2 separate regions of the Homo sapiens genome follow, and region 1 is linked to region 2. The links are contacts of gene promoters, found by promoter capture Hi-C in human tissues and cell types (Jung and others, 2019). All regions are on one chromosome and are shown on one strand. The core of a region is centred on a gene start or on the middle of the fragment in contact, and the rest is flanking DNA. Distances in the headings are between cores, read along the strand shown.

Region 1 (6,779 bases), core at 3,386-5,885, 52 kb before region 2:
GCATACATTAAGCAGGAAGGACCAATGGTCAAGTCCATAACTGACCACAAAACAGCCTCAGCTCCTCCCTGAGGCTCCCTGCTTCTCTGGTCCCCATGACAGCTCCCTGGATGCTTTGGTAGTGCTTGCAACTGCACAGAAGAGAAATTAAAAGCAAATTTGCATCACCTTTGCTCAGTGCCAGAGCGCTCAGTTTTAATTTGCATTTTATTTGCAGAGCACTTGCATATAATATTGTAGAAATGCCGAGAACTCTCCCTTCCCCCTTCTCACCCTGCCTGCTTCTCCTCATTCATGATTCCCAGGATGTCTGTGAACCCAGGTATATTACAGAGGGACTTAGCCCACTGGGGAGCTAAAGTAGAGAAACCCTAGGTGGCATCTAAGGGCTAGAGGATCTGAGGGCCAGGAGTTTGACAGCAGTAGGCTCAATCTGTAATGAAATGGAGCCCAGATATCTGCTTTCCTTATTTATGAAATCATAGGAAAATTCTCCTCACTGCCCACTGTGCAAATATGCATGATGCTGACTCAAAACCACCAACTCTCAGGACCGGCTTAACACAATTCCAAACCTGGTGAGAACCCGTGGGGCAGCTACACTGTACCATCTGTGGAAACCCTTGATGGGCCATTTTAATATCCCTTCCCCTTTAACACGTGGACTTTCCACTGCTCTGGTTCCATTGGGTGTTACACCCACCTGCCTCTCGTCCCACCTGGCAACTGTATGGTTGAATACCTGATTGCAGAGCCCCCCATCGCTGCACAACGTTTGGCTTACACCAAAACTAGCCTGAGTCCAAGATTACACTCCCGACAACACACACACACACACTTCTCTGCCAGTACAATTCTATAACACATTATGATTTCTGTAAAACCTAAAGTTTATTTACATCACACACACAGAGGACAAGGAGCTGGGAAATGCACTGCATCATACCAAGCTAACATTCCTGCTTACTCAATGCCCATTCCAAGAAGTGCCCTTCTCCCTGTTTACCCAGACAGGCAGCTTCCAATCTGAGGAAATTTGGTGTTAAAAAACAAACAAACATAAAAGGTGAGAATGCGCTGCTAAATATGCTCCTCCAGTGTCAAAAATGACAGCCAGGTTCCAAGATGTACTTTTAAAAGAAAACAAAATCAAGCAATGAGGATAGTGAACACAGAAACAAAACAAAACAAGAACAAGAATAAGAAGAATGAAAGAACAAACTGGTTCTTTTCTTTTTCTTTTGTTCTAAACTGTTGCCAAGTTATTTATCCCTGGAAAGCCACTTACTTTTTCAAGGTGAAGTATTTCCTTGTGAGATGACTTATTTCACTTGGTTCCACTTAAGTTTATAGCTATTGGTTGGGGGTGGGGGGAATATCAACTCATAGAATGCTGGAGTACAAAGGGATCTTCAAAACATCATTCGTCTTCTTGTTTTACAGAGGAAGAAACTGTAAGGCCTGAATTTTGCTCAACCACAATTAAGTGACTTCCCCAAGTTCACACAGACAGACACTCAAAACAGCAGAGACAATAAGAAACCAAGTCTCCCAAACCCCCTTTTCTGCTTTCCCTCCCTCTGTACTAGTGAAAGAAGAGAATGAGGCTGGGTGTGGTGGCTCACACCTGTAATCTCAGAACATTGGGAGGCCGGTGGGGGGCGGGGTGGATCACCTGAGGTCAGGAGTTCAAGACCAGCCTCGCCAACATGGAGAAACCCCATCTCTACTAAAAATACAAAAATTAGCCGGGTGTTGTGGTGCATGCGTGTAATCCCAGCTACTCAGGTGGCTGAGGCAGGAGAGTTGCTTGAACCCAGGAGATGGAGGTTGCAGTAAGCCAAGATCACACCACTGTACTCCAGCCTGGGCAACAGAGTGAGACTCCATCAAAAAAAATAAAATAAAATAAAGGAAAAAAAAGAAAGAAAAGAAAAGAAAGCAGAGAATGTTCTGAGATGTGGCTGGTGATGCTGACATTGCTTCTGTTCAAAATCTTCCTCCTCACTCATTCACTACCCTTTGCAATGACGATCCATGTCCTTGCCTTCAGTTTCCACTTCTATCCATCAAAACCATCTGTGCCTAAACAATCACTTTTACTTCACCTGGCCATAATGAAGACGAATGACACAGCACTACCACTGAATTTTTGGTAAGGTCATTTTTATTGCTGTCTAATTGCTCAATGACCCTAGGACAATCATCCTTATGTTTCCTCCTCCTTAGAGAAAAGTGCCAGGGTTAGGTTTTTCTCTCTAGGTATGTGAGGAGGCTACCAGTTGCTAGAAATGTAGCCTCCTGTAACTCAGCATAGTTGATTTTCCTCCCAGCTTCTAGGAAGCTCAGAACTAGGTTTCATGTGCTTAACTGAAATGATCCCCTTAGCCTATGTTGTTTGGAACACTTCTTGCTCCACACTACTCCCTTCATTACTTTGCTGTTATTCTTCTATTCTTTTTACAATCATCTTATTATATCTTTGTCTTCATTATAAATTGCTTCAAATCTTCTTTGGAAGGATAGAGTATAAATAATCATAATGAAACACTCAAGACTTTTCAAGCTTTGAGGAGAAAGATAATGTATAATTTTCATGCATCTTGGTCCAAAACCAGGAATGTTGAGCTAGTGAGAACGCTCCTTGTGTGCCAAAATTACCACACAAAACAGTCAGAGAACTCCAAGATGCTCCTGAACCTTAAGGTAAATCTGGGACCTGCTCCCTGTGCTTCCACCATTCCATAGCCCACAGTGTTTCTGCTGCATTTATCCACAAAAGTGATCATCTCCTTTATGGCTCAGAAGTGGCATCTTACTTCTTCCCAATGTGCTGGGGGCTGGGAACGCTTCATGGTTGGCTGACCTTGTACCCACTCTGGTGCTTTGGGTTGTTCATTGATCCTCGTCAAAATTTACAAAAGCACAAGACAGATGAGAAGGGGGAAGTACATTCCTCAGCTGGAAGAGTGGCCAAGTAACCACAAACTGCTGGCCCTCCTGGGATTGTGCTGGTCACGGACTTGGCTTCGGCAGCCCAATGACTTGTTCCTCCAGACATCGCCTACGCCTGCAGTCAGTTATCCTTCACTCAGACCACCAGCCCTCTGGGTCCCAGGGACGCAAAGCATGATGGGAAGTAGGCGGGTACTGGACAGGAATGTAAAGGGCCAAGGTAAGACCAGGAAGGAAGCCACTTCCCCCAGAGTCAGCCTCCTGCTAGATCCTAAGACCCCTCTGCTCTAACAATTATTTTTCTAAACAGCCTCATTCCAAGCTGTGGAGGCTGGGGTGGACTTTAAAGCAGTAGGAACAGAGTATAAAGCTTTCCATATCTTCCACGCAGATATTATATCTAGTATATGGGTGGGATTACCCCACGCCAGAGATTGTTGTTTTCTTAAATTGCAAAGTTTATTACACCCTTCATCTAAGGTGCACAAACCCTGGGCCTGAGAAAGGAAAGGGTCACGGTGGTCACTACATTACACATTGGTTTAATCCTCAGTTCTACTGGTTCTACTGATCCTCAGTTCTGGAGGTGATCAGAATGGAGGTGGTGAAGCCAGGCTCCACTCTTTACTAATAGGGTAACCCTGGGAAAGTTACTTAACCTCTCCAGGCCTCGGTTTCCTCATCTATAAAGTGGGAACAATAATAGAGCCCATCTCATGGGATCAGAAAGCCCATGGTATGTGCCTGGCTTAGGGCAAGTGTCATATAAACTTTAGCCTCTCCCACCCCAAAAATATCTTGTCCTCCAAGATTGTAGTCCAGTCTCAGAAAGAAAAAGGAACTCAATAACCATGAGAGTTGGTTCAGGCTTCTCTCAATTATTTATATAAACAACACATTTCCTGTTTGGGGACTATGTCACCCAAGATATGCCACTTCTAAACTTGGTCATCAGGAGCATGCAGGACTGGTTTGGATATACAGTCAAAGATGAAAATCAGTTATGATTGGGTCTGCTCATTTCTACTTATTTCTACTCCCTCGACCCAGATAATTAAGAATTAACTGCACATGGTTAATGTTCTTATATAAACACAATGCAAATCTTACCATGTCATTCCCCTGCTTCAAGCTTTTCAAAGATCCCTAAACCCAAGTCCCTTCCATGATATCCAAGGATCTCCATGATCTGACCCTCGTTGCCCTTCCCTGCCTCATCACCTGCTAGTCCCTGTCTGGACCTTCATAATCTAGCAATGCTGAACTTCTTTTTTCTCCCTGGTGCCTGGCATCCTCTTCCTTGTCTGGTGCCTTTACTCAGATTGTCCCATCAGCCTGGAAAACTTCCCCTCTCCTCGTCTGCCAAATCTGCTCAGGCATCATCTCCTTCCAGACACCTGTCATGCACCTTCCCCCACCACCTGCCCCACAGCAGGCTGGGTGCATCTACCTCATGCTCCAGTTATAACCTGCACATTGTTTCATCACTCTACACTTACCACTTTGCATTATAAGGATCTCTATTCCTTGTCTCTTGGGCCCTCTAGAGAGTGCCCCCTCCCTGAGATCAAGGAGTGTGTCTGTCTCTCTTGCGTGTGTATGTCTGTGTGTCTCAGGTGCCCAGCACATAGTAGGTGCTAGTGAAAGGAAACACAGAAAGGAAGGTGAGAGACATGTGCAGTTGGACTAGTCAACAGGTAGCGGTAATTTAGCTAAATAGCACACTTCCCAGGTAATGGGGTCGATGGACTCGTCGACACATATTGCCACCCAGCAGTGGCAGGATCCTGGAGAAAGGGCCCCTCCACTGGAAATTTATGACTGAGCAAAGGGGAGAGGAAAGAGAGATGAAGGGAGACAAACTTATGACATATAACACCATCTGGGATGGAATGTTCTAGAAAGCAAGCGTGAGAGGGAACAAAGACATCAAGCAGAGAATCTTGAAGCTTAAGTATGAAAGGACCCAGTAGGCCAAATATCACATTTTAAAATAAACCTCTCCACTCAGGGCCAAAGCAAGAAGAGGGGCTAAGTATCATGAAGCAGAGGAGTCCCTACAACCACTGTCCTTTCTGACACAGCTCCTGGGCAGAGCTTAGCTAACTACACATTCCACAGTGAAAACGTCAAATTGGATATCCATCAGTTGCTCCAAAGAAACACAGAGATACAGAAATCTGACAAAAGTACTGGCAGTATCCAACTTGAATCTGGCTTCTTTTTATCTTTATTATTGGTCTCACTCATGGGCACACAGCCCACATTCACAGTTCTTTGAAAACCACAGCAGGTTAAGTACCAAGACTCCAGAGTTAGGGCCAATGAGATATGATATGGTGAGTGAGCCAAGGAGTGACCAACCAAGAGCCATAGCACATGCAAAACGAGCACAGCCCTGGTCCTGACATTCTGCACACACCTCCAGAGAATTTCCATCCATAGGAGCCCGGACCACAGGAGGAAGGACCAAGGAGAAGTACAATGCGTTACTAGCATGAACGTCATTTGTGAAAACCATGTCCCAGACGTGCGTACAGAAAAAGTCAGCTTTCTCATTGCCCAGCTCCTGTCTGAACCTGTATCCCTAAGCTCTCCCCACACTAAATTCATACCCACCCATCAGACATCCTTTACTCCTCCAACCTTCTTCCTCCCACCTGTTCATCTAGTCTCCAGAGCTCAGGTTAATGGAAATTGTAGATGTGTAACCTTGTGTGATATTTTAGATTATCACTTAATAAATAGTCACTCTCCTGTTGCCCCTCCCTTTGGATATAAATTTCCCTCTTCCACTTAGGTTGGGTTCACCATATGACTTGTTTGGGCAGTGGAATGTGAGTAAATGTGAGTGTGTGGTTTGGCTTCTGTCATTCTCCATGAGAACACATCTAAGTGGCTCTTGATCCAAAAAGAATGTGGAACAATACCTGGACCCCGCCTGAAGCCTGGGTAAGTCCAGGTGACCCATAGTCTGAAACAAAGTTGCCCCTGCCCACCCAGAGACCCAAGGGTGAGAATAAGTGTTTGGCTTTTTTAAGTCTTTAGTTCTAGGATGCTTTGTTATGCAACAGTCCTGTAGCTATAGCTAACCAATACACTCTCAGAAAAGCTCAACTTGATTGCTAGTTTGCTCTTTCTGTATTTTCCTGTATAACACAGTGATGGCTCCTTCCCAAATGTAGTCAGCACAGGATGGGCTCTGAATATCCCCAACAGCCTGTTGGTGGCACTCACACCACAATATATCCAGAATACACAGTGCCTGGTACCTCCCAGAGATGAGATGGCTAGTGGTTTGGCTGCCTCTGCCTGACTTCCCACCATCAGTAGGATTTCCACTCTCCAGTCCTTGTTGAAAGCTGTGTGCGCCATACCACCCTCCTCCGCCTCCCCCTGCCCAGGCAGCACATAGAGTGAAGCGGTCAGCAGGAGAGGGGCTCAGCCTGAGCTGCTGGCAGCAACTCTCCCCATGTCCTCTCGGGCAGAAGCCAGAGGCTGCGTCTGTGCATATGGGCAGTGGTAATGAGAATTCCCTGTGGCTTCATGCAAGGGAATCAGGCAGTGCAGGCAAAGCAGGCCAAACTTCCCTTCTTTTTCCAGAAATGACAGTGAAACAAATGGCAGGAAACTCTTTGTGCTGACCAATACAGGAAGGATTGCCAGGGCACAGCTCTAGAAGTGGGAAGAAAGTGAGAGGAAAGATAAAGGGAGAAAGAGAAAAAGAAAGTGGGAGCGCAACTACAACTTTAGTGTGAATCACTCTATATTACATCATTGGCCTTCACAGCTCTGTCCATCAAATATTACCAAATCCAGTTCCA
Region 2 (6,833 bases), core at 1,520-4,019:
CGGGATTCCCGATGCCAGGCGCGTTCGGCAGCAGTGCTTGAGGGCGAAACGGGCCTCAAAGTGACTCAGCGGAGGCAGGAAATCCACTCTTTGCTACCCCTTGGACTTTGTGTTTTGTTCCTTTAGTTTGTGGGGGGCGGAGAGGTGGTTCAGGTGGCGACGCTTGGCCACCTATATTGGCACTTTTCACAGCTATTTAAAGAAGGCCTTGTCCCCCAGCAACAACACTCTTGCCCTTGTCCCCCCAGTACCAACACTCTTGCGCTCCCCATTTCCCGGCTGCACTCTTCTCATTCTCCCCTTCCGAGAGGCCCGGCCACCGGCTCGGGAGCTGGGCCGGTCGCTTTGGGAGCGGATGAGGAAGGTTAGGAGAAGCAGCGAGATAGATCCCAATTTTACAATTCTATTTTCTTTCGGTAGGGTCTCGGCGTCCTGGGCCACGTTGAGAGCGAACGTGGGCCGAGCGGAGGACACAGAGTAAAAAGCGACGCCCGCTGTATACATAAATCCGCACCCGCTGCCCGCCCGGGTACTGCCTGCTCTGGCTTCCGCTCTCTTCCGAGGCTGGGCAAGTCCAAAAGTTCCCGAAAGGGGGGTTCAAAGAGGGGCGCTCAGTGCACGTGATTTCGTTTCATCTAGGGTGTTGGGGGTGGGGAGATTCCTCACTGGATTTGGTTTCTCCAGCAGAACTGTCTCATCCTCCACATTCATGCCGCTCTAGCGGTTCCGAGTGAAAGAGGCAAGAGGTTTAAAGGACAGAAGGAAAACTCCCTCCTGCTAAAAATAAATAAATAAAATAAAATAAAATAAAATACGGGCTTCCCAAACTTGAAAAGCTCCAAGGGCAGAGTGGGTGGGGGAGCCGTAACCAGAATCTCTGGCTTCAGCTCTGCAAGACCCGTGTGTGGACACTCTTCCGGGGTCCTTGACTCGCTGCTCCTCCTCTGTCGCTGCAAAGGAGTTGTGAGGGGGGACCCACAGGACCCGACATCCAGCTCCAGTTAATTAACGCGGAGCCTAGGGCCCAGCCGCGCGGTCTAATCCCCGCGCTGCGTTGCCTACTGGCCCAGAAAAGTCTCTCTCGGCCTTGCCCATGGCTGAAATTGGGGCTGGAGTTGGTGGGGGAGAGAAGCCTCCTCGAACTTGGGCGCTCCAGGCCTCGGGTCTCGGATGCTATTGCCTCTAGGCCGCGAGAAGAGGGCGGCATTTATGAGACGTCGATCAGCTCCGAGATTAAAAATCCAGCCCTGGGTATTTTTAATCACTTGCCACTCAGACGCCTACGAACAAGCTCGCCCGCCCCTCGCGGCTTTGGGGAATTCGGTGCCCAGTGCGTGAGGCCTGGGGCGGCTTGTTGGATTTATTTGGGTAGGGACGACCCACAAGCACTGACGGACAGATAGTGATGGGGCTCAATTTAGTGTATGAAGAGGGGCGCTAGCTTCCCTATCGCGGACCAGGTCCCAGAGAGCGGGGCTCCAGAGCTCAGCGCCAAGCGGAAAGAGAGTGCGCCCAGGACGCACGGCCTGAACACTCACCCAGCAGCGAGGAGAAGGAGGCCGAGGTGTCGATCGCGCTTTGGAAGTTCTCCTCCATCTTTAGGCCGTCCAGCATGTTCGGGCCGGGCCGGGAGGACCTGTAGAGGAGAAGAAACGATGCGTCTGACGTCCGTGCCCGCTGGGACTCGGCGCCAGCAGCCACCGCACTCCTGGGAAAGAACTGAGGGAGTGTCCAGGGCGACCAGAATCAGCCAGGAGGATAGGGTCCAGCCAAGAGAATGTAGGGTGGGAGGAGAGATCAGTCACAGCGAACTGCTCTGGCTGATCTGATTTCACTTGAAGTCAACACGTTATGTACTTAGGCCTCCGCCCCCCAACTGCGTTTCTCCTTCTCCTGCCCCCCTCACCCCCACCTACATCCCTTGCCCCAGGTTTTCCATCCCGAATCCGACTCCGCCCCAACCTATACGAAGGTGGGCCCTCGGGACGTCTCTGCAGGAACGCAGCTACTGGGGTATATTGGGTATATAAAGAGTGGGTACCCTCCCTCGAGCGACCGGGTCCAGGCACGCGGGACGATGGGGTTTGCAATCCCGCGTCCCAGCCGCCCCGTTGCGGCCCTCACCTGCCCCAGGTCGAGAAGGGGCACTGTAAGGGACCCGGAGGGCGTCCCGCCCGCTTCTGGACTCCTGGCGCTGCGCTCTGTTGGGGTGCGCGCAGGAGCCGGTGTGCGGGGCGCGCGGGGAGGTCCTCCCGCCAGTCGGCCAGTGCCGGGAATGTCTGCAGAAGCAAAAGAGTCGCCTCGGGGAGGAGCCCCGGCTGGCCCGGCTCACTCTTGGATGCATTTCAAGTCAACTTTCAGAAACACGCCCGCCCGAGCCACAGCCTAGGCACGGGCAGCCTTACTTACCTGGTAGGCGAGCTCTCTCCCAGTGACTGGAGCAGAGAGAAGTTGCGGAGCGCTGCTGGAAGCTTCTGCCCGGGAAGGCGTCGCCCCCGAGACTGCAGCCGGAGGAGCCGCCCTCGGCTTCGGAGCGCCGGGGAGGGAGCCGGAGCGAACGCCGGCCGCTGGCTCTGCTCCTCGGCGCGCCCAGGCTGGGCCGGGACGTGGTCGCGAGCTGCCGGCCTTCCCGGGACGTCCTACCAGCCCGCGTCGCTCCTCAGCGGGAGGAGAGGGCCAGTTGCTTCTCCAAGGCTAGGAGGGAAGGCAGAGGCCCAGGGTCCTGGGTGCGAGTCGGCCCTGCTTCGCCGGGGCGGATCCTGCAGCTTCTGACAGGGGCCGCGGCGCTGCGTGCGCGGCGGCGGAGAGGGGGTGGGGTGCGCTGGGCGGGGGGCTGGCAGCGCGTCCCGTGGCGGGGCCGTGGTGCTCCCTTTCCCAGCCTGGCTGCGCGGCCACCACACGGCCGCTGCCCTCTGAGCCCCTCCGCCTCTGGGAGCTCTCGGACACGCTAAGTTTCCTCCCCTCCACGTGTAACTGTTACCTCGGGGCGCTCTGGCCCGGTCGCCCCCCAGTGCCCCTCACCCCGACTGGGCCTTTGCGGAGATGTCGGCGCCTCCTGGACAGCGGTGCCGCCACGAGGATTCCCCCGCCGCTCTCCAACTGCTGCTATAAAAGCGCTGCAATCCTTACCCGGGCCCCGGGAAGCGCTGAGAAGCTGTTTAGCGCCAGTAGATGTGGGCCCAGCAGCTCCTAGCTCCTCAAACCCCTCATCACCCGAGGGCTCATGCCAGTTTCCAACTTCCTTTAAGGTCGAACCATATTCACTCATGGGGCGTACAGAGGCCATGGGACTCACGGCCTAAGAATCATGCTCTTGGGAGACACTAGGTGGGATCTGCCCCCCAGATGATGAACTTGCAATGACACTCAACAGGAAATCAGGTAAAGGGACATTGTTAGGGGAACAAAGTATCTGGGGAGAAATGTGAATTATCTGCACCTCCTAACTTTAATTTACAATAACAGACCTTTAGCCCCCTCCAGAGCAGGAATAAGGCCTTATCCGTCTGTATAGCCCAGGAGGTAAGCATGTTGTGTGACCCCAAGTGGATGCTCAATAAATAAATTACAATGCTGGCTAGCGTTTATCGTTTATTTTGTGCCAGCTTTGTTACACAGTCACCTCATTTAATCTTTACAACAACCCCCATGAAGTGGAGACAATTGTTGTCCCAATCTTACAGTTGAGGGAAATGGAAGGGAATTCATGGAATCCGAGTCCCATCATCTGAATACCATGGGAAGGTTCAGTTCAATTCAGTGTGATTCTCTGGGGCACCTTCAGTTCCTAAACTGAACTGAACTGAGATGAAATTGGCAGGCCGTTTGACATGGTGAACTCAGGCAGAGGAGATGCCACATAGCCAGGGTTTTTCTATTACCTCCTCCAAAGACAGAGCCACTTCTTTATTCCTAAAGAAAAAGTGCTGGCAGCAACTTGCTCTAATGTGCTTAGGAGCAGCGACCCCACTAAGCACTAAAAAAGCCATTCTAAGTGCTTTCTGCCAGCAGGCACAAGCCAAACACTGAATATGACTCCAGAAGAAAGAGGGGAAATGGCAAAGAGGCTAATACGTTATATTCGAATGCTGCTTTACAGGCATTTTCACATACATGATTTTGCTTGATCTTTACAGCAAACCTGTGAGGTAGGCAGAACAGTTTTATCTTTTGTTTCAGATGAATCTTTGGAGCTTAGCACGGCTGGGAGATTTCCCTGATGTTGCCCAGATGGCTAGTGGCATGTCTCCTAACACCTGACCTCTGTCCTTTCTGTCACCCCAGGTAGAGCAGGGTGTAAAAAAATACAAACTACAAGTATTATTAGGATAATATGTGAAATAGAAGTTAAGCAAGAAAAAAATGGAATAGGGCAGATACAACCATAAGGAATGTTTTTATGTAAATACCCGGCAGAATTTTGGTTTCACTAAAGGTCTTATATGAAATATATGAAATACATTTTAACTAGTGGTAAGACTATTCCTTTTAGTGAATATCCTGAAAGTAGATAGATTGTCATTTGACCTGAAACTCAAATCTTTCAAACAATTCTTACATCCACCCACAAGGCCGCTTGATTAGTGTAGATCACACAGGTTTTTGGTGAGAATGTCTCCCCAGCCATTGGGCACTTCAGGATGGGGACGGTGCCTCAAAAATCACATCATAAGTCATATCACTTTTAGTGCAGACCTAGACACATACAATTGATGAACAAATGCCTTTTACTTGGTTGAGGAATGAATAGAACTCTCACTACAGTCAGAAGGCACTGCAGTGAAGGGTCAGGAATCAAAGGACCTCCGTTCCATTCCCAGCTTTGCCACTGAATTGGTCTGGGCCATCAGTTCACCTCTTTAGATGTCAATACCTCTCTGGAATGAAGGGTCTACATTATGTGGTTGGTCAGGCCCTCACAGTCTAAAGTCTGTGAAACCAGTCCAGTGGGGTAGGCAGTGGGGTAGCTTTGGCCAGTGGGGTAGGCAGTAGAACCAACAGATCCATATGAGGTGCTGAGCAGTGGTTGCCTAGGTATAGTCTTGGCTGATGTGTTTAAGTGATGTGTCTAAACCAATAAAGATAAAACTTATTTATTCGGAGTTTTCTCTTTTGTGATTTATTTGCCCTCTTTCAATGAAGTAGGAGTCATGAATCCCATTCCTACCCAAGGATTGTTTCAGTTTGGCCTTATCCAACTCAGTGACATGGATGGGTGAGACGATCACAGGTGGATCATTCTGACCCCTCTATGAAAGATCCTCCTAACCATGCCTCGTGTTTTTCCTTGTGATTTAAACTCAAACACTTTTATTTTACCTTTTAAATGAAAGAAGATGCCACAGAGCCACTGCCCAGAAGCCATTTATGAAGAATCAGCCATCTTCTCCCTTTTATCAAAAAGAAGTACTCTGAGAATACATGGGAATGAGGTGAATAGGCTTCAGAGGGGACTCAAAAGATTACACGTTTAGAGTTGGAAATGATTTTAAAGCTCATGTGGTCCAACCATTTAGTTTGTAATGGATCAAAATTCATTTCCCTAAAGTTTCCACCCTCTGTTCCATTGATTCCTCGGGGCTAGCCATTCAGGAAGTCAAATCCTGCCTCTAAAACTTTTAGATGAAGGCAGAGCTGGCCTCACTCTCCTGCCCAGTCTTCGAATCTGATCCAGTTTTCCTGTCTCTTATAAATTATGGCACCCAGGCCTGCTGTGAGTTTCCAGTGATAGTGTATTCAGGGTGTTTCTCAAGCAATATAACACCCATTAATGTTCCTGATTTTGTATGAGCATTTTCTTTTTTTTTTTTTTTTTTTTTTTTTTTTTGAGATGGAGTCTCTCTGTGCCGCCCAGGCTGAAGTGCAGTGGTGCGATCTCGGCTCACTGCAAGCTCCGCCTCCCGGGTTCAAGCCATTCTCCTGCCTCAGCCTCCCGAGGCATCCACCACCACGCCCAGCTAATTTTTTTGTCTTTTTAGTAGAGATGGGTTTTCACCGTGTTAGCCAGGATGGTCTAGATCTCCTGACCTCTTGATCCACCCGCCTCAGCCTCCCAAAGTGCTGGGATTACAGGTGTAAGCTACCACGCCCGGCCTTGTGTGCATTTCAATGGCTGCTGTTGACTCACACTTATGTGTCATTAATAAAACCTCCTCAGTCCTTTTCCACATGGTCTGCTGGTAGGGCCCATCTCTGCCATATCGCGTTTGTACAATTGATGTTTGAATCCAAGTGTGAAATTTATCCCTGCTAAGAGACAGGTAGCTGTTGTATCAGAAATCTTGCAACTTCAAGCAGATCCCAAGAGATCCAGGAACTATGTCTTAAGCCTAGTGCCTTGTTTTGAGAGAGAAATATGTGGCCCTTGCCAAGCTGGTCTGGAAGCGCCATCACTGGAGGAAGACAGGCCAGGACCAATCAATGGGTGTATCTGTGGGTCCCAGGGGTAGCAAGACCTTGTAACTTGGGGATACTTCTCCAAGTAGAAGGTTTCCCTGATCCTGTTCCAATTCTGTCATCTGTCTTCAGTCCAATAGCGATTTGTAGAAGATGGGGGTGGGACATGCCAAATAGCTGTGGAGTTACCCCTTCTATGGCAGAAAACAGAGAAGCAAAAATATCAGATACATGAGTCTTTGTGGCTGAGATTTAGGGAGAGGAGTGAGGGTAGAGGAGAGACCAATGCTTGGTGAGAGGGAAGAAAAAAGGGAGGAGGACAGACATCCTGCTATAGAGTGGAGATGACAGGAACACATTTTTTTACTTTCCTTTTCTCGCTCTCATTTCTGTGTTTTATTAAGGGAAATACAAAGGGAAAATTGTGTTATTTGTTT

Evidence for each region. The method cuts DNA at HindIII sites, captures the fragments that hold promoters and counts their contacts. A contact is called where the count stands out against the background at its distance.
Region 1: a fragment that was not itself captured here is called in contact with the fragment with the promoter of LMX1A in region 2 in 1 of the 25 tissues and cell types used here (H1 embryonic stem cells).

What each region holds. Positions count from the first base shown.
Region 1 is chr1:165,300,551-165,307,329 of GRCh38, forward strand. The region is part of intron 3 of LMX1A (LIM homeobox transcription factor 1 alpha); the gene reads right to left. Among named protein-coding and RNA genes, the nearest start is that of LMX1A, 53 kb to the right of the region's middle. RefSeq lists an enhancer at 4,712-4,881 and a cis regulatory region at 4,797. The HindIII fragment of the contact is 3,381 bases long and covers 2,946-6,326 here.
Region 2 is chr1:165,353,946-165,360,778 of GRCh38, forward strand. It overlaps LMX1A (LIM homeobox transcription factor 1 alpha), which reads right to left and starts at 2,770. Exons shown (of 9, transcript NM_177398.4): 1 at 2,410-2,770; 2 at 1,539-1,636. The coding sequence starts at 1,614. The HindIII fragment of the contact is 8,258 bases long and covers 1-6,833 here.